Linked DNA regions of Homo sapiens: all the other regions are linked to region 1. The links are contacts of gene promoters, found by promoter capture Hi-C in blood cells and fetal thymus (Javierre and others, 2016). All regions are on one chromosome and are shown on one strand. The core of a region is centred on a gene start or on the middle of the fragment in contact, and the rest is flanking DNA. Distances in the headings are between cores, read along the strand shown.

Region 1 (2,700 bases), core at 114-2,613:
GCACTTTCTTTGGAAATGAGTGTCTTTGACCTTCAAAAAAGTTATAGTTGTTATCAGTTATCATAAGAGGTGGGGCCCACCTCTTAAAGTAGCAATAAAATCTTATTTATGGTTGAAAAAGGTCAGGTCATTGCGCCACTTCTCTTTGCAGGTTTCTGTGCAATCCATCAGGGGACAGCTGGGACTAATCATTTAAAAAACTTTCCAGCCTGCTAATTTTACCATACCTCACATTTTTGTCATTCCTGGCCAAAATCCAAAGGGCAAGTCCCTTCTGCAGCCTCATTTTTTTTTTTTCTGTACTTTCGCTCCCCTGACGCAAGCTTCCACTGTCTCCCATCCTAACTTTACCACTACGCCCTCTAGAATGCCTTTTCCTGATAAGCAAAACCCCCCGAGTCGTTGGCTCCTCCACTTTCCGGTTTTGGCAGAATCCTTGATCTGAGCCAGGCCTCTTCCCAGGGGCTCTGGCCCTCTTCACTTCCTTTTCCCCGGAGGACTCTGGCTCCCGGGTAGCAAGCAGCCCACTTCCCCGGCCGCTTCCTTCCCCCGGGATGACACGTTTCTACAGGCGGACTCTTCTAATTCATACTATTTCCCTACCCCCGTGGTGGCTCCTAGCACCCCCAGGCCTGTTCTACCTGTAAAATCTTGACACATTTAAACTACTACTTCTGATCCTTTCCTCCCCGTCCAGCCTTCGCTCTTAGGCTGCCGAGCCTGGACTGCTTGTCATCCCCTCAGGCGTCTCCCCGGCCCTCCCTGCTCTTCAGCCGTCCCGACGGAGCGCGGCTCCTGACCAAACCCACGGTTCGTCTTCTCCACCTGCTCCGCGCGCCTCGCATGTGTCTGGGGGGAAACACATCCAAACGTCGACTTAAATGATTCAGGGCCGAGGACCGTGAGAGGCAGTCTTCACTTTTTCATCTTTCTTCATTTGCACAGTATACCAATAAGCTCTTACTACTTCTCAGCACAGGTAACTCGCCTTTTGCAGAGCACCCTCCGCCGCCGAACGGTCAGAGCCTGGAGGAACCCGCACCAGGATCGTAGGGCATGACGGGCCGGGGGCGGGACGAGGATTGACGAGCCGGGAACAGGGCGGGGCTTGAGGGGGCGGGAGGGTGGGGCGAGGCATGACGGCTCTGGTGGGAGGGTAGGCGGGGCTTGACGGGCCTGGGGGCGGGGCGGGGCTTGAGGGACCGGAAGGTGGGGCGAGTCATGACGGGCCGGGGCGTGGGCAGGGCTTGAGGGGCCAGGGGACTGTGTGGGGCCTGACGGGCCGGTGGGTGGGGCGGGGCTTGAAGGACCGGAGGGTGTGTGGGCGGGGCTTGATAGGCAGGGGCGGTGCGGGGGCGTGGGCAGCACAAGCCGTGCGCTCCCGGGCTGCGAGGTCTGGCTAGGCTACGGGCCACGCGCCGCCGCCGCTGCCGCCGCCACTGTCCTCTTCGGAGGCGCGGGCCCGACGGAAACCATGTTTGTGGCTCGCAGCATCGCGGCGGACCACAAGGATCTCATCCACGATGTCTCTTTCGACTTCCACGGGCGGCGGATGGCAACCTGCTCCAGCGATCAGAGCGTTAAGGTGCGCGCGGCGCTTGCGGGCGGGGCCGACCCCGGAAGGAAGGAAGGGGAGTGGGTGGGCGGCGCGGGGAACGGGGCTGTGTCTTGGTTCAGTGACGCCGCTGGAAGCTGTGGGGTGGCGGGCGAGCCCTGGCTGGACTGAGCGGAAGCCCTCCCCGCCCGCGTATTGTGGGGTCACGGCGGCCTCGCGGGCCGCCCTCCCGTGCGCCTGCGCAGCTGGTGCCACGTGCGCGCTCCCGCCCGCAGGGTACGCCGGGCCCTCTCCCAGGCCGCGCTGCCGGGGCTGCGGGCGGGAACCCAGGGGCATCCCACCGTCAGCCTCGGCGTCGTGGGTCTTGCCCGCGCTGTTCACCCGACGACCTGCAGTGGGACCTGGTGGGAGACTTTGCCTGGCTGGCGCTGCGTCGAGTTCTGTGCCCCGCCGGTGTTCTCTCACCAGGGCACATGGTTTTCTCCGTGGGTTCAGAGCAGAAGCTCACTTTGTTACGCCGAGGAAGAAAAATACAAACCATTTACATCCAATGATTTCCCTGCTTGCTGCCCAGGAATCGGAGGGTTTGTTTCTTGAAGTTCCCGTAAACGTCTGTAGACACTTCCGACAAGCAGAATTTCTTTTCTTTTTTTTTTTTTTTTTTTGAGACCGAGTCTCACTCTGTCACCCAGGCTGGAGTGCAATGGCACGATCTCGGCTCACTGCAACGTCCGCCTCCCGCTTTCAGGCGATTATCCTGCCCCAGCCTCCCAAGTAGCAGGGATTACAGGTGCACGCCACCACCCCCGGCTAATCTTTTTTTTTTTTTGTATTTTTTAGTAGAGACAGAGTTTCACCATGTGGGCCAGGCTGGTCTCGAACTCCTGACCTCGTGATCCACCCGCCTCGGCGCCTCGGCCTCCCAAAGTGCTGGGATTACAGGCGTGAGCCACCGCGCCCGGCCTACAAGCAGAATTTCTAATGTGGGGATGCTACATGAGATTTAGGAACCTCCCAGATGTGTTGCAGGATGAATGAAAGCTGGAGTGCGGATTATTTGGTTCTCGACAACTCCAGAGTAACTGGAAATCTGAAGGATAGTTTATCCTTTTTCACATTCGAGTTTGATACCAGTGATCTCTCAA
Region 2 (2,700 bases), core at 152-2,651, 660 kb after region 1:
ACACCATGTTAAATCCCAGAGCGGGCTATTTATAACCATTTCAAAATGCAAATATGTTCATTAGCAAAGGAGAGAAGAACTTTTCCAGTTCCATGAAGTTCACCAAAGCCCTAATTTTTTTTTTTTTTTTTTTTTTTTTTTTTTTTTTTTTTTTGAGACGGAGTCTCACTCTGTCGCCCAGGCTGGAGTGAAGTGGCCCTATCTTGGCTCATGGCAACTTCTACCTCCCAGTTGCAAGCAATTCTCCTGCCTCAGCCTCCTGAGTAGCTGGGATCACAGGCGTGTGCCACCACACCTGGCTAATTTTTGTATTTTTAGTAGAGACGGGTTTCGCCATGTTGACCAGGCTGGTCTTGAACTCCTGACCTCAGGTGATCCGCCCACCTCGGCCTCCGAAAGTGCTAGGATTACAGGCTTGAGCCACCGTGCCTGCCCCACAAAGCCCTAATTTTAAGAAACAGACAGGTACAGTGGCCTACAGCGCTCCTCACTAAGGCCCTGGCTTGAGGGCAAGCCTATCATGTGACTGAGCCTGACCAGGAAGTGCTGGCCCAGGTGGCAAGGAGCCTCGGGGCTCCAGGGACAAGGGGCGCTGGTAGCCAGGGAGGGGCGGCTTGAAGTGGCTGCAGCTTCTAATTCTTTCTGAAGCTGCCTCTTTCTGAGGGTGACTCCCTCTTCATTCACCCAGCAGGGTGACTCTGAGAAGTCAGGGAAAGTCTGGCACAGGGAGGGGAGTTCCATTTTTAATTCGGAAATTGCTCAGGAAGAATCATACCATCCGGATTTCCCTCGCGGCTGTATATTAATAAATGGTCACTTTCCTTGCTGAAATTCTCTGGTTTCCTTTTATCCACGTGAAGCTTCTGGAAACTCTTCTGGGTGGTTCTTCTGTTGCTTTTCTGCCCCTGCCCCCAAAAATGAGAACATGAGAAAGTGATGTCTTCTAGCCACCTGGAGGACCCTGCGGTGACATCAGGGCCCAGTCCCTGCTGTCATGCCCCAGGTGACGTGCTGGGCTGACAGCAGGGCTGGCCGCTAACGTCACTGTCCTGGCTTCTAACGCTGGTAGTAACCAACAGAGTTTAGTTTTGCTTTGACAACTCCTCCTACAGCCAAAACTATTGTTATGGCCCACATGTCATTCCTATTTACCCTAAATAAGGAAAAACAAAGGCTATTCTGGGCTCCCGGCAGTGCTTGTGGTGGGGGTTATTTGCAGCGTTACCATGGCAGGCTGCCCTTTCCACCACGGCCACCCCGTGATTTTCTCTGAAAACTGCGACAGACTCGCAGCCTGCCCTGAATTTTCTTCACACAGCCTGGGGGCATCCGAATGCACGGGAGATGTTTTACACTCAGATGAAACAAACTGTTTAGACCTCGGGGAAAAGAGACTGTGCTTGAACAAAATGAACCAGGAGAAAGCGCCCTCCTGAGACATGTCTCTGCTTTCATGTTTGAATTGCCTGGGATTCTGTTCTCTAATTTCTGATCCTTATAAACTAAAACTGCCTAGGAACATTGAGCATCCTGACTTTGAAGGAGTCTCTGTGGTGTTTTTGTGCTACCATACATGGGGAATAATGATGTGAGGCAGAGGGAGAGGGAATGAATGGGAGAGCCAAGAGGGAAGAGCGAGCCGGGGGGAAAGGAGCGCGCAGTGTTTCCTGCTGCGGTTAGGACCTCACGCCTTGCCAGTACAGAGCTCGGTGGCAAGAGCCGCTGGGAGCTGCTCCCATCAGTTAGAGGATGTGGAGAGGGAGCACCAGAAGAGGACAGCCCGCAGCCTGGCTCGCAGCCTGAGGGACGCTGTGGGTGCTCCCAGCCGGGCGAGCACGCTCTGGGAGCGGATCTGCAGGGGAGAAGCACGCGAGCCTAACGTGAGCGTCCCGCCTGTCGCGTGTCCTGCCTTGGTAAGCGCCCTCTCCGGTCCTTCCACACTGAAAGCTTCCAGCAGAGATCAAGGGAAGGAGTATTGTGTGAGACTTGCAGATTTCCTCCTTTCTGTCTGGACTGGTTTGATATTTGCCTGTTGAAAAGATTACTGAACGCAGTGTGACAAGATGAGCCGTCTAGCTGCGTTCTGCTTGCCTGTGTGTGTGACACGTCCAGGTGTGAGGCCAAACCTGAGAAGTGCAGACTGCTCACTGATAGACGTTGCTGTAAACAGTAGTGCCCTGGGTGTACAGCTGGTCTCAGGATCGGAGACCCCGGACTTATTCTCTGCTCGGTGACACGGCCGGCTTCCTGCCGCAGAGCTCCTGGTTTCTGTTGATGGCAGTTGATAATTGGTAGCCACAGTCTGCGGTCGGAGCCACAGCATTTGAGTCTAGCACCTGGGGTGGGCCCTGCTGATACAGTAGAGAGAGAGTGAACGAGGCAGACAGAAACACACCCCCCCCCCCTCCACGCTCACACACTCTCCCACACCCCATGCCAGCTATAACTGCAGCTCTGAGCTGCCTGGAGAGGAGATTGCCGGAAGCTGAAGGGATGCTTTGAACGTGGGGGGGCTGCGTCACAGTTGGACTCCCACTTGCAGAGGACCTGATTATGTCCAGTGACCACCTGAACAACAGCACACTGAAGGAGGCTCAGTTCAAAGACCTGTTCTTAAAAAAAGGTACATTTCCCAAGAACTGCTATGGATGATGCATGCTCTTTCGGGTTTGCTGTGGTTCTTCTTGGAGTTTGGTCTGA
Region 3 (2,700 bases), core at 67-2,566, 680 kb after region 1:
ACTGATGCTAAAGGCAGTAATGTTCTGGGCATCTATAGACTCCCAGAGTAATTCATTTGAACATGGTTTCTATGGTGGCTAAAATAATAATTTTAAATAAAATGTATGAACATTTTTATCAACAAATTTATAGTAATCTTTTAAATATATAAGGTATTAGCATTAATAATCTAATAGTAAAATCTGTTGGTTTATTTTTTGCTTAGTCCTTGAAAGTTGGTGTGGTTTGTTCTGAAAAAAAAAAAGAGAAGAAGATTAAAAATTATCTTAATGATCATAACTCTGGGTGGCCCCTGTTGGGGAGGCTCACCAGGCTGGGGTCTGGCTCTTGGCAAAGCCCCAGCAGCTCTGTGACCTTGGGTGAAGGTCACAGAAAATCCCCTCTGAGCTCTGACTTCTTCTCACATGTGAGACGAGGCAACTGGTGCTGAAATCAGGATGATGCCTGCCTGGATCTTGTGTGGTTCCACATTTTCCTGCTGCCTGGAACTTTCTCATTCCCAGGCTGATTCCTCTTGAAGTCCGATTGCTCACTAACCCCAGCACCAAGCTGGGAGAGGCACCTCATATTGCTTTTCCCCGCTAGCCCATTGCATTGTCCCAGAAATAGAAAGGATTCCCTTCCTTTTCTTCCAGCAGACCTTCCTAGATGATTTGTCTTTTCTCTTAAGGGACGTGCCCTAGATTGAGCAGAGTTGGGGGATCTTGAATCTGAGAAGTCTGATGATGGATTCCCCAGGAGGAAGAAAGGGGGAGGTGCAGTCTCTGACAGCCAGGGGTACTGGCCTCACATCCAGGCTGTGACTGCCATCTAGAGTGGAAAGGACGGTAGTGATAAAATATCAGGATGGTGGAGAGGCTGCATGAAAAAAGGGAGAAAACAGGGAAAATTGATTTTATCAGAAGGCAAAGGTGTTGCTGAATATCCAAAGATCAATTTCACCTCTTCTTTGAAATTCTCACTGTGGAACAGGGGAAAAATAGATTTCCAACTATTTGAGGCCATAAAATACATTCATTCACTGGGAGGTTAGCCCTTGGGTAGAATCAGAATACCCAGCAGTAGTCTTGCTTTACCGCAGACTGACCGAGGTGCCTAGAGAGGAATATGCCCTCTGTCCTCAGTTTCCCCCCATCTAAAATGAGGGATAACTGGCTTCATTCGGAGGCCTTCAATCTGTATCTTGCCATGAAGAACAGTAAGAAATACATTTTATATCACAACACAAAAGCCTCCTATAATGCAATTAAGGCAGAGGTTTTACAAAACAATACTTACAGTGTGCTCAGATCATTTCTGTTCTGTTTCAGTTTTTGGAATGCTGGCTGTGACCCACTTAAATGGATTTTCCAGCTCTCTAAGAGGCTGCAAAGCACATGGTGGAAAACACTGTGTTCAGTGCTCTCCCTGGTTGTTTCCAGTCCCCACATCTGATCATTCCTGGGGTCCTCTGTGTGTGTGTGGAAAGGAGAGTGTAGCTGAGAGCATAAGCCCAGCAGGGTTCGGGCGTGGTGTGGCCTTGCACACGTGGACGCATGGCAGCAGGCGACAGCCCATGGTGCAGCACAAGGGAACCCTCAGTAAGTCATGGCTGCAGACGACTGTCCTTTAATAATATGAGATGTACTGGTTGGAAGAAAAATGATCCAATAAATACAGAAATGAAAAGGATTATAAAATAGTGCTACGAACAATTGTATGCAAACCAATTGGATAACCTAGATGAAATGAAAAGATATTAGAAACAGCCTACCAAGACTGAATCATGAAGAAATAGAAAATCTTAATAGATCTATAGCTAGTAAGGAGATTGAACCAATGGTCTAAAATCTCCAACCTGGACCACATGGCTTCAGTGGTGAATTCTACCAAACATTTAAAGAATTGACATCAATCCTTCTTAAACTTCTAGAAATTTCAAGAGGTGGGAACACTTCCTAACTCATTATGAGATGAGGCCAGCATTCCTGATACCAAAGCCAGACAAAGACACAGCAGAAAAAGATAACCATAGACTAATATTTCTTATAAATATTGATGCAAAAGTCCTCAACAAAATACTAGCAAACTAAATTCAGCAGTATATTAAAAGGGTTATACTGGCTGCGCACAGTGACTCACACCTGTAATCCCAGCACTTTGGGAGGCTAAGGGAGGCAGATTACTTGAGGTCAGGAGTTCGAGACCAGCCTGGCCAACATGGTGAAACCTGTCACTACTAAAAATACGAAAATTAACCAGGCATGGGGGCACGCACCTGCAATCCCAACTACTCGGGAGGCTGAGGCAGGAGAATCACTTGACCCCGGGAGGCGGAGGTTGCAGTGACCTGAGATCGTGCCACTGTACTCCAGCCTGGAAGACAGAGCGAGACTCTGTCTCAAAAATAATAATAATACTAAATAAAAATTAAATTTAAAAAAGTAAAAGGATTATACATCATCAACAAGTGGGGGATTTATTCCCAGAAGGCAAGGATGGTTCCATACATGAAATTCAGTCAGTGTCATACACTACATTAACAGAATGAAGTTGGGGGTCCCAAACTTCATTCAGCAGGTCCCAAGTTCTTGTCCCACAATCATCTCAGTTGATGCAGAAATAGTATTGTCACAGGATCCTTAGGGTGTCACTTCGCCAGTCAGAAACCTTTGTGGCTGGTGGTGCCTTCTGCCTGAGTATTGCTCATGCCCACTGGG
Region 4 (2,700 bases), core at 125-2,624, 560 kb before region 1:
ATCCGGCCTCTACTAAAAATACAAAAATTAGCCACGCATGGCCAGGCGCGGTGGCTCACGCCTGTAATCCCAGCACTTTGAGAGGCCAAGGCGGGTGGATCACGAGGTCAGGAGATTGAGACCATCCTGGCTGACACAGTGAAACCCTGTCTCTACTAAAAATACAAAAAATTAGCCGGGCGTGGTGGCGGGTGCCTGTAGTCCCAGCCACTCTGGAGGCTGAGGCAGGAGAATGGCATGAACTCGGGAGGCGGAGCTTGCAGTGAGCCGAGATCGCACCACTGCACTCCAGCCTGGGTGACAGAGCGAGACTCCATCTCAAAAAAAAAAATTAAAAATTAAAAATTAGCTCAGTGTGCTGGTACAGGCCTGTAGTTCAAGCTACTCAGGAGGCTGAGGCAGGAGGATTGCCTGAGCCCAGAATTCAAGGCTGCAGTGACCTATGATCACACCATTGCACTCCAGCCTAGGTGACAGAACAAGACTCTGTCTTTCAAAATAAAAAAAAAGTTCAGTATAAATTTTTTTTTCATCAGTGTGGACAGAAACAAAGTTACAAAATGAAAAGTAAAAGTATCTTCATTTCTCATGTTCACATCTTAAAGGTAACTTTCTTTCTTTCTTTCTTTCTTTTTTTTTTTTTTTTTGAGACGGAGTCTCACTGTGTTGCCCAGGCTGGAGTGCAGTGGCCTGATCTCAGCTTACTGCAAGCTTTGCCTCGCAGATTTCAAGCTATTCTCCTGCCTCGGCCTCCCAAGTAGCTGGAATTACAGGTGCTCACCACCATGCCTGGCTAATTTTTTTGTATTTTTAGTAGAGACGGGGTTTCACTGTGTTAGCCAGGATGGTTTCGATCTCCTGACCTCGTGATCCACGCACCTCAGCCTCCCAAAGTGCTGGGATTACAGGCGTGAGCCACCGCGCCCGGACTTTTTTTTTTTTTTTTGACACAGTCTCACTCTGTCGCCCAGGCTGGAGTGCAGTGGCTGATCTCGGCTTACTGCAAGCTTTGCCTCCCAGATTTCAAGCTATTCTCCTGCCTTGGCCTCCCGAGTAGCTGGGATTACAGGCACCTGCCACCATGCCCGGCTAATTTTTGTATTTTTAGTGTTTCACTATGTTGACCAGGCTGGTCTCTAACTCCTGACCTCAGGTGATCCACCTGCCTTGGCCTCCCAAAGTGCTGTGATTATAGGCATGAGCCATGGTGCCTGGCCTTTAAAGGTAAATTTCTAGGTAGTTTTTTCTGTGTGTGTGTGTCCATACATTTTATATGTATTTGCAAGCATATAGAACTAATTTTTAGGCCAGGTGTGGTGGCTGATGCCTGTAATCCCAGCACTTTGGAAATCCAAGGCTGGTGAATTGCTTGAGGCCAGGAGTTTGAGACCAGCCTGGCCAACATGGTAAAACCCAGCCTCTACTGAAAATATAGAAAATTAGCCGGGTGTGGTAGCATGCGCTTGTAGTCCCAGCTACAAGGGAAGCTGAGGCCTGAGAACCACTTCAACCCGGGAAGCAGAGGTTGCAGTTAGCCGAGATGGTGCCACTGCACTCCAGCCTAGGTGACAGAGTAAGACTCTGTCTCAAAACAAACAAACAAAAAAAAAAAAACTTATTTTTACATGAACGAACGTGTACTTTATGCATCTTGATTTTTTCTTTTGTTTAACATATATTTTTGTATGTTAATAACATATAGTTCCCCCAAGGCATTAATAAACTCTATTGTATTCTCTTGTAAAGCTTTAATAGTTTTCTCACCAAGCGTCATTTAGACTAATTCTCATTTCTTTTTATTTCAGAAGCCACCGTGAGCTTTTTTTTTTGAGACAGGGTCTTGCTCTGTCACCCAGACTGGAGTGCAGTGGCACGATCATAGCTCACTGTAGCCTTGAATGCCCAGGCTCAAGCCTCAACTTTCCAAATAGCTGTGACTACAGGCCTGCGCCACCACAGCTGGCTAATTTTTAAATTTTTTGTAACGTTGGAGTTTCACTATACTGCTGAGGCTGGTCTTGAACTCCTGGCTTCAAGTGATCCTCCCATCTTGGCCTCCTAAAGTGCTGGGATTACAGGCATGAGCCCACGCACCCAGCCAATTATTCTTATTGGTACATGCATATATACACATGTGCCAGCTTCCATTCAGAGGATGGTTTCCTAGTAGAGAGATTGCCTGGTAAACATTAGTTTTTAGAAAATAATTTGTGTTTTGTGGCTAGGGCTTGGGCTCGCTACCCAGAGTTGTGCTGCATACGGTTCCCCACTAGGCGTCAGGAGAGCCCTATACATCTCTAGACAACGCCGTGCATTTCCAGAAAACCTTCAGATGTGTTCACAAGGCTGGTCTGGATTTTTCAAAAAATAATTTTTCTATTGTTCATAGTTCATCTCCACGAACAACCTAATGCTGTGTTTTCTATAAAGTGAAGCTGACATAATCTTTTCCAGTGGTGGTCTTGGTTTGTGCTACTGTTCCTGGCAATGGGCCTCAGGTAAAGGAATAGAAAAGACACAATGCCCAGTTGCTATTTTCCAGATGATAATGAGTAAAACCATGAATGATGTCACTGATGCCAGGGTGCTACCAATGCACGTTTCATGAATGACAACTGCAGAACATTTAGAAGATTCTTTATCACCCTTTTACTAGGTAGTGATCAAATATTTTTCTAAAAGAGTTGACCACAATGGTAT
Region 5 (2,700 bases), core at 142-2,641, 530 kb before region 1:
AGCAGTTCTCCTGCCTCAGCCTCCTGAGTAGCTGGGATTACAAGCACCTGCTACCACGCCCAGCTAATTTTTGTATTTTTAGTAGAGACGGGGTTTCGCCATGTTGGCCAGGCTGGTCTCCAACTGCTGACCTCAAGTTATCAGCCCACCTGGGCCTCCCAAAGTGCTGGGTTTACAGGCGTGAGCCACTGCGCCTAGCCCTATTGTTTTTCGAAAATCCATCCATATGAGATGTCTATAGATGTCTACATAAATATATGTAGATATAGATAGATATTAATAGCTGTATGAATGTGCCACCATTTATTCTTTTTCTTATTGAAGGGCATTAAGTTTTCCTCTTATTACAAATCGAACTGCAGTGACCAGCCCTGTGTCTATTTCCCACTCAATCAAGGGCCCACTTAGGCCAATGGATTTCAAGCTCTTCAGCCTCAGGACCTCTTGATTTAGCAAAACCCTAAACAGTTTTGCTTATGTGGGTTATGTCTGTCAATATTTACCATATTAGAAATTAAAAATGATAAATTGAAAAAGTTAATTCATTAAATTTAACAATAATAAACCTGTTATAATGTTTCTGAATAAAAAACTGTATTTTCCAAAAATTAGTGAAAGGAGTGGTGCTGTTTCTGTTTTTACTAATATCTACAATATCTGGCTTAATAGGAGATAACTTGATTCTCATATCTGCTTCTGCAGTCTGTGTTTGGCAATATATAGTTTTGGTTGAAGTGTATGGATAAACCCCAGCCTCACACAAACATGCAGCTGGAAAAGGTGGGAGCATCTTAGTAGTCTTTTTAAGTAATTATGGCTATTCTTTCCTGTTATGACAAAAGAAACGGTAGCTTCTTAACACTTAGTTGGAATACAAAACCTGAAACTATAATGAATAGAGTATTGAACTCTGAGGCCTAGCGGGGGTAATCGGTTGAGCTCAGGAGTTTGAGACCAGCCTGGGCAACATAGTAGAATATGTCTCTACAAAAAATAAATACAAAAATTAGCCAGGTGTGGTGGCTTGTGCCTGTAGTCCTAGCTGTTCAGGAGGCTGAGGCAGGAGGATTGCTTGACCCCAGGAGCTTGAGGCTACAGTGACAGAGCCATACCATCTCTTAAAACAGCCACCACAACAACAAACCCATTGGCCTGTCCTGTGTATGAATGAGTCTTTAACCCAAGTATGACTTGGAAGCATTTGGAATATAGGCCTCCACTGAGCGTGCAGCATGAGGCAGTCATCCAGCTCCTGGTAGCAGATACAAGTTTTCTGAAATTTCAATTATCACTTTATTTATTTATTTTTTTTCCAAGACAGAGTCTCACTCTGTCGCCCAGGCTGGAGTGCAGTGGCATGATCTCAGTTAACTGCAACCTCTGCCTCCCAGATTCAAGCAATTCTCCTGCCTCAGCCTCCCAAATAGCTGGGATTGCAGGTGAGTCTCACCACGGCCTACTAATTTTTGTATTTTTAGTAGAGACGGGGTTTCGCCATGTTGGCCAGGCTGGTCTTGAACTCCTAACCTCAGGTGATCCGCCTGCCTTGGCCTCCCAAAGTGCTGGGATTACAGGCGTGAGCCACCGTGCCTGGCCAAATTATCACTTTAAAGCTCAAATTTTATCTTTGGCAGCAAATGCTATCAGTTGTTTTCCTTGAAGCACAGGCTTACTTTGTTAATTTTCAAGAAATCATCTGCCAGATCCCCAAGTCTGAATAAGCAAAGTTTATCTGTTTATTGTTCTTTCTGTTTATTGCTCTTTCAAGTACAAGAGGCAGGCAGTGGAAAGCAGCAGAGAGACAGGGGCTCCCACTCAGAGTGAACAAGTGCCGGCGCCCCCCAGACACCCCAGAGTCGAGGGACTTGGGCCGCAGCAGCAGAGGGGCTTCTGGTGCACTTCTGTTCCCTCACACAGAATATCAAAGAGAAGAGTACTCAGGGGTCAAGCAGTCATAAAACTAATCACTTGGCCATTTACTCACAGATGTCCCTAAGAGAAACTGGCATTGTTTCCCAAGTGCACAGCAGTGAGGACTGCGGTGACCACATGCAATTTGGAGCCCTGCCTTGATGCTGGGAAGATACTGGCTCTGTCCTTTTATTGCTTTTGCAGAATTAGCGCAAATGTCAATACAGCAAAAAAGGCCAGTCATTGGCCGGGCGCCATGGCTCATGCCTGTAATCCCAGCACTTTGGGAGGCCGAGGTGGGTGGATCACCTGAGGTCAGGAGTTTGAGACCAGCCTAGTCAACATGGTGAACCCCCATCTCTACTAAAAATACAAAAATTAGCTGGGTGTGGTGGCTCATGCCTGTAGTCCTAGCTACTCGGGAAGCTGAGGCACGAGAATTGCTTGAACCCGGGAGGTGGAGGTTGCAGTGAGTTGAGATCACACCCACTGCATCCCAGTCTCACTCTGCAACAGAGTGAGACTTGGTCCTCCCCCCACCCCTCCACCCCCACCAAAAGAAAAGGTCAGTCATGTCTCAGTAGCACTGTGACAACAGTTATGTCTGGAAAAGTTCTTGGAGCCACCAGGGTGTGTGGCCCAAATGCTAAGGAGCAGCTGATGGAGGCCTTGGGTCACTTGGTGGTGGGGTATAGCAGGCCTACTATCTTGTTTTTGGCTGCCTACATCTTTTTTTCTTTCTTTTTTTTAGAGACGGTCTTGCTCTGTTGCCCAGGCTGGAGTGCAGTA
Region 6 (2,700 bases), core at 108-2,607, 640 kb before region 1:
AGGAGGAGGAAAGTGAGCAGACAGGAGTGCACGGGTAATGTGGCTCGCCCAGAGCACCAAGTCATGAACGCCATCACTGCCTTCGACCCAGGTGAGGGGCCTTGTCCTTGCCTGCCCCCTCCCTACAGGGCCACTGGGATGAGCCCACAGCTCCTAGATGGCACCTCAGCCCCCCGGACCTCAGGAGTCCCTGCCCAGACCTCCCCAAACCTACTCCTAGGGCCCCTTCTTCCCGCAGGGTGGCCTGGGATGGCTGTGAGTGGCTGAGGACTGAAGTGTCCACAGGCATGTACTGGAGACCCATCTCGGCGTGGGACAGAATTGGAGGTGGGGAGAAAGGCGGGTGTTGAAAGTGAGGACTGCAGGCTGAGACCAGCCCCCGCACTTCCACGCCCTGATGCAAATCAACGAGGAGCCCAAGAAGTCTACCGATTTCTTTTTTATTTTATTTTATTTTATTTTTATTGAGACGCGGTCTCACTCTGTCACCCTGGCTGGAGTGCAGTGACATGATCACAGCTCACAGCAACCTCCACCTCCCAGGTTCAAGCAATCAATCCTCCCACCTCAGACTCTGGAGTAGCTGGGTACAGGCATGTACCACCATGCCTGGCTAATTTTTTAACTTTTTGTAGAGACAAGGGTCTCACTATAATGCCCAGGCTGGTCTCGAGGTCCTGGGCTCAAGCAATCCTGCCATGTCAGCTTTGGAAGTTTTGGGATTACAGGCGTGAACCACTGTGCCCGGCCTAGCCTGAGAATTCTAAACTGGAACCTGGCTTTCCAGATACCATGGTGTATTTTTTAAGGTAGGAGAAGAGAATGTGTCCTCTACGCTTTTTTAAGTTTGGTTTGCGGCTTGTGTGCATTTGGACACACCGCGTCACAAACAGCCTCGCCCAGGAGGAGTGAGGGCCACAGATCGGGAGGGTAGGGGGCCCAGAGCCTGGAGAGCCCCAGGCCGGGCTCACAGGTCAGGGTTTCACCTGCCGGCTCCCAGAAGGGAGTGGCCAACAGACACCAGGGAAGTCAGGGTTGGGATTCAAAGAGAGGCCAAGGCTGCAGAGAGACTGGGAGCCACTTTAGGAAAGAAACGTGAATTCAGGCTTTGCACAGCAGAACTGTCCCCATGTCCTGGGGAGGCCTTGGTTCATTCTGCGGGGAAATCCCTTGTGTCTTGCGGGGCCCCGCCTCTGATGAGAGGGAAGGGAGATAAGCTTTGCAGGGGGAAGGTTTCCTCCCGGTCTCCTCACTCTTCGAGCACTGAGTTTCTCCAGACAAAGCGCACTCCGCGGGCACCAATCCCTGCAGACAGCGCAGAGCGCACAGCGAGCAGGAGCCCAGAAACCAGCAGGTCGGCTTGTCCCTTGTCAAATCCAAGTGACAACGGACTTCCGGAAGCCACGCTGACACCTACTTTCTGGCTCGATCAGACCCCTGGACTTAAATTCCAGCCCAAGGGCTAGCACTGAAAGGGTGGCTATTTCAGCAAACGACCAAAGCTTCTAAAGTAGACACTTTCTTTTAAACCACTTGATGGCTGGATTTCTTAGAGAGAGAGACTAAAGCTGGAGGAAGGGTTCTTCCAGGGATGGCACAGGCCCTCCGCTCTCGGGCTCCCCACACTAGACTTCGGGCCGGCAGGATGGGTTAAGGTAGCACTCGTTGGAGTCAATAATTAAGCAATGGAAACAAACAGCCTAAATAAGGGTGTTGAGGACTCAGGAGAAGGTGGCTGATTAATCTCAGGCTCATAGTTTGAAATGGGAGCGCAGGGGCTGGGCTGTGGCCTCCTCATCTGCTCCCTGGGCGTGTGGCTGTGTAAAGAGGTGTGGGGACCCACAAGAAGGCCGAGGAGCAGCACTGGGGTGGAGAGAGCAGTGGGGAGGCGGGGACCCAAGGGTTAAAAAAAAAAATTCCTCAATTTGGAAACATTTGCAAAACTCCAGAAGAAAAACTTTTAAAAGTTCTCCACTCCCTTCCAAACGTACAAACATGCACACACACAATTAGGAATTTCCCAAAGTTTTCATCTGTCTAAAAAGAAAGTGCCAGTGCAAATTACAGAACATCGTCGCTTCCTCATGTGCGGCGTTTCTACGGGCCTGGGAGGGGACGCAGAGGCTACCCCGGTGGTCCCAGCCTGCAGCGTTCACGTGAGGAAACTTCCGCAAAAGCCCTGATGCATGCACATTCTGACTGCAGAGGCCAGAGCATCCCGCATTTTGGAGGCTGAAAGGCTCCCCTAGGATAACCTTTTCCGTTAACAGAGGAGTCCGCTGAAGCGCAGAGCTAACTGAAAACAGCTAGAATTAAAATCCAAGTCACCCGGCCGGCATCAGCAGTCATTCCTTTCCACCACACAAAACTGGCCAGGAAGACGGACTCTGGCGCGCCCTCCCAGGCCGAAGCGCATTTCTTCGCTAACGCGCGAGGAGTAGGCTGCATAGACCCGGCGCAGGAGGTGTTCATTTTCGGATCCAGCCCTGTAGTCACTTTAGCTAAACCCGGTTCCAAAGGGGTGGGAGTCGTCGGAGAGGAATGGCCTCTGTATCTCCGGAGACGGAAACACCAGGACGAAGAGGCCCTAAGAACGTGTGCCCGGGGTGCGACCGGGGGGTGGGGGGCAGGGGGCAGAGACCCTGAAAAGCTCCACCGCCGAACCCCAGGGCAGTGTCCCGGCTTGGCTGGACTGGGCGC
Region 7 (2,700 bases), core at 85-2,584, 580 kb before region 1:
TCTCTGGGCACAAGAGATCCTCCCACCTCAGCTTCCTGAGTAGCTGGGACTAAGAATGCAAGCCACCACAGATGGCCAATTTTTTTACATTTCTTTGTAGAGATGGGGTCTCCCTACATTCCCCAGGCTGGTCTCGAACTCCTAGATTCAAGTGATCCTCCCACCTCAGCCTCCCAAAGTGCACAGATTACAGGTGTGAGCCACCACGGCCAGCCTACATAGGATTCTTAGTAACACTGTTAAAACACCACATCCCAAGGACTGTAACTGGTTTAGGAGCATGAGCGCTCTGGGATGTGCTTATTTCTAACTGCTTGCTTTGTCAGCAAGTCTGGAAGGCAAGAATGACAAACAAAAAGCAAAGGAGCCCCAGAGCAATCCCAGAGGGGCTGGAATCGGGGAGCAACTGTTCTTAAAGGCAGTCTCTGTCAGAGAGGAATGACTGGCACTGCTCCACCCCACAGACACCCGCTGGGGAGACAGCAGACTAATGCCAAAGAGCCAGAGGGTCAGGAGGAGCTGCAGCTATGGAGAAGCCACCTCGAGGACCTGCCATCCCAATCAGAAGGACGGCTGCAGCCCAGTCCACACGCAATGACCACTGCTTCTGAGCAGCTTCTGAGTGGGAGTCCCCACTACATCTGAGAATTACACATATAAGATCCTCACTTTCATAAGATAAACATGTTTCAAAAATCCAACTAGATAAAAGGACTCTGGAAGATGGTGGCATAAGGAAGCACCAGGAACCCATCTCCCTACGCACAGGACAATGGTACAGGCAGGATCTGTCCGATGTAAGCATTTTGGAATTCTGGAGTCCACTGAAGGTTTCCAACTTCCAGGGGAAACATAAACTGAAGTTAATCTCAGTCAACTTCAGCTCTTAGCACAGTAGCAGCTGCTCATTTGAGTAGATAACCATTTCTTACATCCTTACCTTCCTGCACAACCTTCAGAACGAATTCAAATTCTTTACACTACCTCAGTAAGTATTCATGTCGTCTTACTTTATCCATTTCATGGATGAAAACCCAAGTATTAAGAGGTTAAGGGGTTTCCCCAAGGCTACACAGCAGGCCTAATTCTGGTGTCTATCACTACACTGCATCAATTCTTTTTTTTTTTTTTTTTTTTTGAGATGGAGTCTCGCTCTGTCGCCCAGGCTGGAGTGCAGTGGTGCAATCTCGGCTCACTGCAAGCTCCGCCTCCCGGGTTCACGCCATTCTCCTGCCTCAGACTCCCAAATAGCTGGGACTACAGGCACGTGCCACCACACCCGGCTAATTTTTTGTATTTTTTAGTAGATTCGGGGGTTTCACCATGTTAGCCAGGATGGTCTCAATCTCCTGACCTCGTGATTCACCCGCCTCGGCCTCCCAAAGTGCTGGGATTACAGGCGTGACCCACTACGCCCGGCCACTGCATCAATTCTAAGACACACATTTTTCATATTTTAACATCAGAAATGGAGATCCATTTTACAATTGATGGCATGTCATAATTTCATCAGCATCTTATTAGATTTGTCTTAGCAACTTATAAAATACCATGTGTCTTACAATCAATAGCATCTTAAATATGCTGAAATATGGTCTTACTTATTTCCCATTGGTTGTGGTGAATATAGTCACACATGGGCAAGCCCAGCAGACAGTAACAAAGGCTGCTCCGCAGACAGAGAAATGGCAGGGACCACGCACCCACTTGGCCCTCCCTTAGAGCCCCATCTGCTCTGACAACACACGCTGATTAGCTGCCACGCCCACAGGTGACTAAATGTAGTAAAGACCCACAGAGGGCCCAAAGAGGCTGGCACACAACAGCACAAAGCAGGGGCAGACGCTGGCACATGATAGCACAGAGCAGGGGCAGAGGCTGGCACACGACAGCACAGAGCAGGGGCAGCTGAGGGCACGTGAGAAAAGGGCGCAAGCAGAGGACTGCCAAGACCATGGTCAGAAGCAGTGGTTCCAAAACCCAGTTCTGGGAGGTAGTGAAATAAAAGAATTTGTGGGTAAATTTGAGGACACCAGGTCAAAACACGGGTTCTCTAGTTGCAGTACTTCTCAGCATTAGAAAAATCTGAGTGAAAATAACAATTTTACAATGGACGAGCCAGGTTAACCTGCTGACTGTCACTTCTTTGGTCTAATCTGATGAATTTCACCTTTGAACCACAACAGCCACCAATCCCATAAAATACTTACTACTCCTTTTGAAAGATAGTTATTGACAAAGTCCTTCCAAGTGATTTCTCTCCCGGATCTCTTGAGCAGCAAGTAAAACATGACTCCACCCCAGAACAGAGCAGTCCAGAGGAAGAACATCCTGAAATCCTTGTCGTCCCATGGAATGTCACCCTGGGCAGAGAGGGAGACAGCTTCTGTGAAGAATGAAATTCCACAATACGATCTATGCTCTGTGAGACACAAATCCCTCCAACACTACACTAATGCCTCCCAACCTTCTCTGGGCCACCATCATAACCTCAAAATTCACACAATGTATAGCATCAAACCTTCTGAAACCTGGACCACCAGTGAGAATCATCTTTCTTGCCACCTCGTTTTCCACCGCCACCACCTCCTCCTCCAGAAGAGCGTGTGGTAGCAGCTGGCTTTGATTCTGTTCATAAACAAAGAGCACACACAGAAGCACGGCAAGGTTTTAGCTCTCTCAGCAATGTCTTCATGTATA

Evidence for each region. Contacts are between HindIII fragments. The CHiCAGO score rates a contact against its expected background, and 5 or more counts as called.
Region 2: a fragment that was not itself captured here is called in contact with the fragment with the promoter of SEH1L in region 1 in 1 of 17 cell types (fetal thymus); the score reaches 7.6 in fetal thymus.
Region 3: a fragment that was not itself captured here is called in contact with the fragment with the promoter of SEH1L in region 1 in 1 of 17 cell types (fetal thymus); the score reaches 5.0 in fetal thymus.
Region 4: a contact is called between a fragment that was not itself captured here and the fragment with the promoter of SEH1L in region 1, in 13 of 17 cell types (fetal thymus, total CD8 T cells, monocytes and 10 more). The highest score is 14.6, in fetal thymus.
Region 5: a contact is called between a fragment that was not itself captured here and the fragment with the promoter of SEH1L in region 1, in 11 of 17 cell types (monocytes, total CD4 T cells, naive B cells and 8 more). The highest score is 8.5, in monocytes.
Region 6: a contact is called between a fragment that was not itself captured here and the fragment with the promoter of SEH1L in region 1, in 3 of 17 cell types (monocytes, erythroblasts and naive B cells). The highest score is 8.2, in monocytes.
Region 7: a fragment that was not itself captured here is called in contact with the fragment with the promoter of SEH1L in region 1 in 15 of 17 cell types (naive CD8 T cells, non-activated CD4 T cells, monocytes and 12 more); the score reaches 14.6 in naive CD8 T cells.

What each region holds. Positions count from the first base shown.
Region 1 is chr18:12,946,648-12,949,347 of GRCh38, forward strand. SEH1L (SEH1 like nucleoporin) reads left to right here and starts at 1,364. Exons shown (of 9, transcript NM_001013437.2): 1 at 1,364-1,585. The coding sequence starts at 1,475. RefSeq lists silencers at 1,062-1,511, 1,552-1,901, 1,912-2,011 and an enhancer at 1,943-2,544. The HindIII fragment of the contact is 15,085 bases long and covers 322-2,700 here.
Region 2 is chr18:13,610,152-13,612,851 of GRCh38, forward strand. The region is part of intron 4 of LDLRAD4 (low density lipoprotein receptor class A domain containing 4); the gene reads left to right. It overlaps MIR4526 (microRNA 4526), which reads left to right and starts at 963; the gene lies at 963-1,049. RefSeq lists an enhancer at 2,473-2,700. The HindIII fragment of the contact is 1,087 bases long and covers 859-1,945 here.
Region 3 is chr18:13,629,544-13,632,243 of GRCh38, forward strand. All of the region lies in intron 5 of LDLRAD4 (low density lipoprotein receptor class A domain containing 4), which reads left to right. Among named protein-coding and RNA genes, the nearest start is that of MIR4526, 20 kb to the left of the region's middle. The HindIII fragment of the contact is 3,355 bases long and covers 1-2,700 here.
Region 4 is chr18:12,389,572-12,392,271 of GRCh38, forward strand. No RefSeq gene overlaps it. Among named protein-coding and RNA genes, the nearest start is that of AFG3L2, 14 kb to the left of the region's middle. The HindIII fragment of the contact is 739 bases long and covers 1,006-1,744 here.
Region 5 is chr18:12,412,288-12,414,987 of GRCh38, forward strand. All of the region lies in intron 1 of PRELID3A (PRELI domain containing 3A), which reads left to right. Among named protein-coding and RNA genes, the nearest start is that of PRELID3A, 5.7 kb to the left of the region's middle. The HindIII fragment of the contact is 7,678 bases long and covers 1-2,700 here.
Region 6 is chr18:12,305,175-12,307,874 of GRCh38, forward strand. It overlaps a transcript of TUBB6 not described here. Among named protein-coding and RNA genes, the nearest start is that of TUBB6, 1.7 kb to the right of the region's middle. RefSeq lists a silencer at 2,553-2,700. The HindIII fragment of the contact is 285 bases long and covers 1,216-1,500 here.
Region 7 is chr18:12,364,755-12,367,454 of GRCh38, forward strand. It overlaps AFG3L2 (AFG3 like matrix AAA peptidase subunit 2), which reads right to left. Exons shown (of 17, transcript NM_006796.3): 4 at 2,522-2,628; 5 at 2,211-2,363. Among named protein-coding and RNA genes, the nearest start is that of AFG3L2, 11 kb to the right of the region's middle. The HindIII fragment of the contact is 2,906 bases long and covers 1-2,700 here.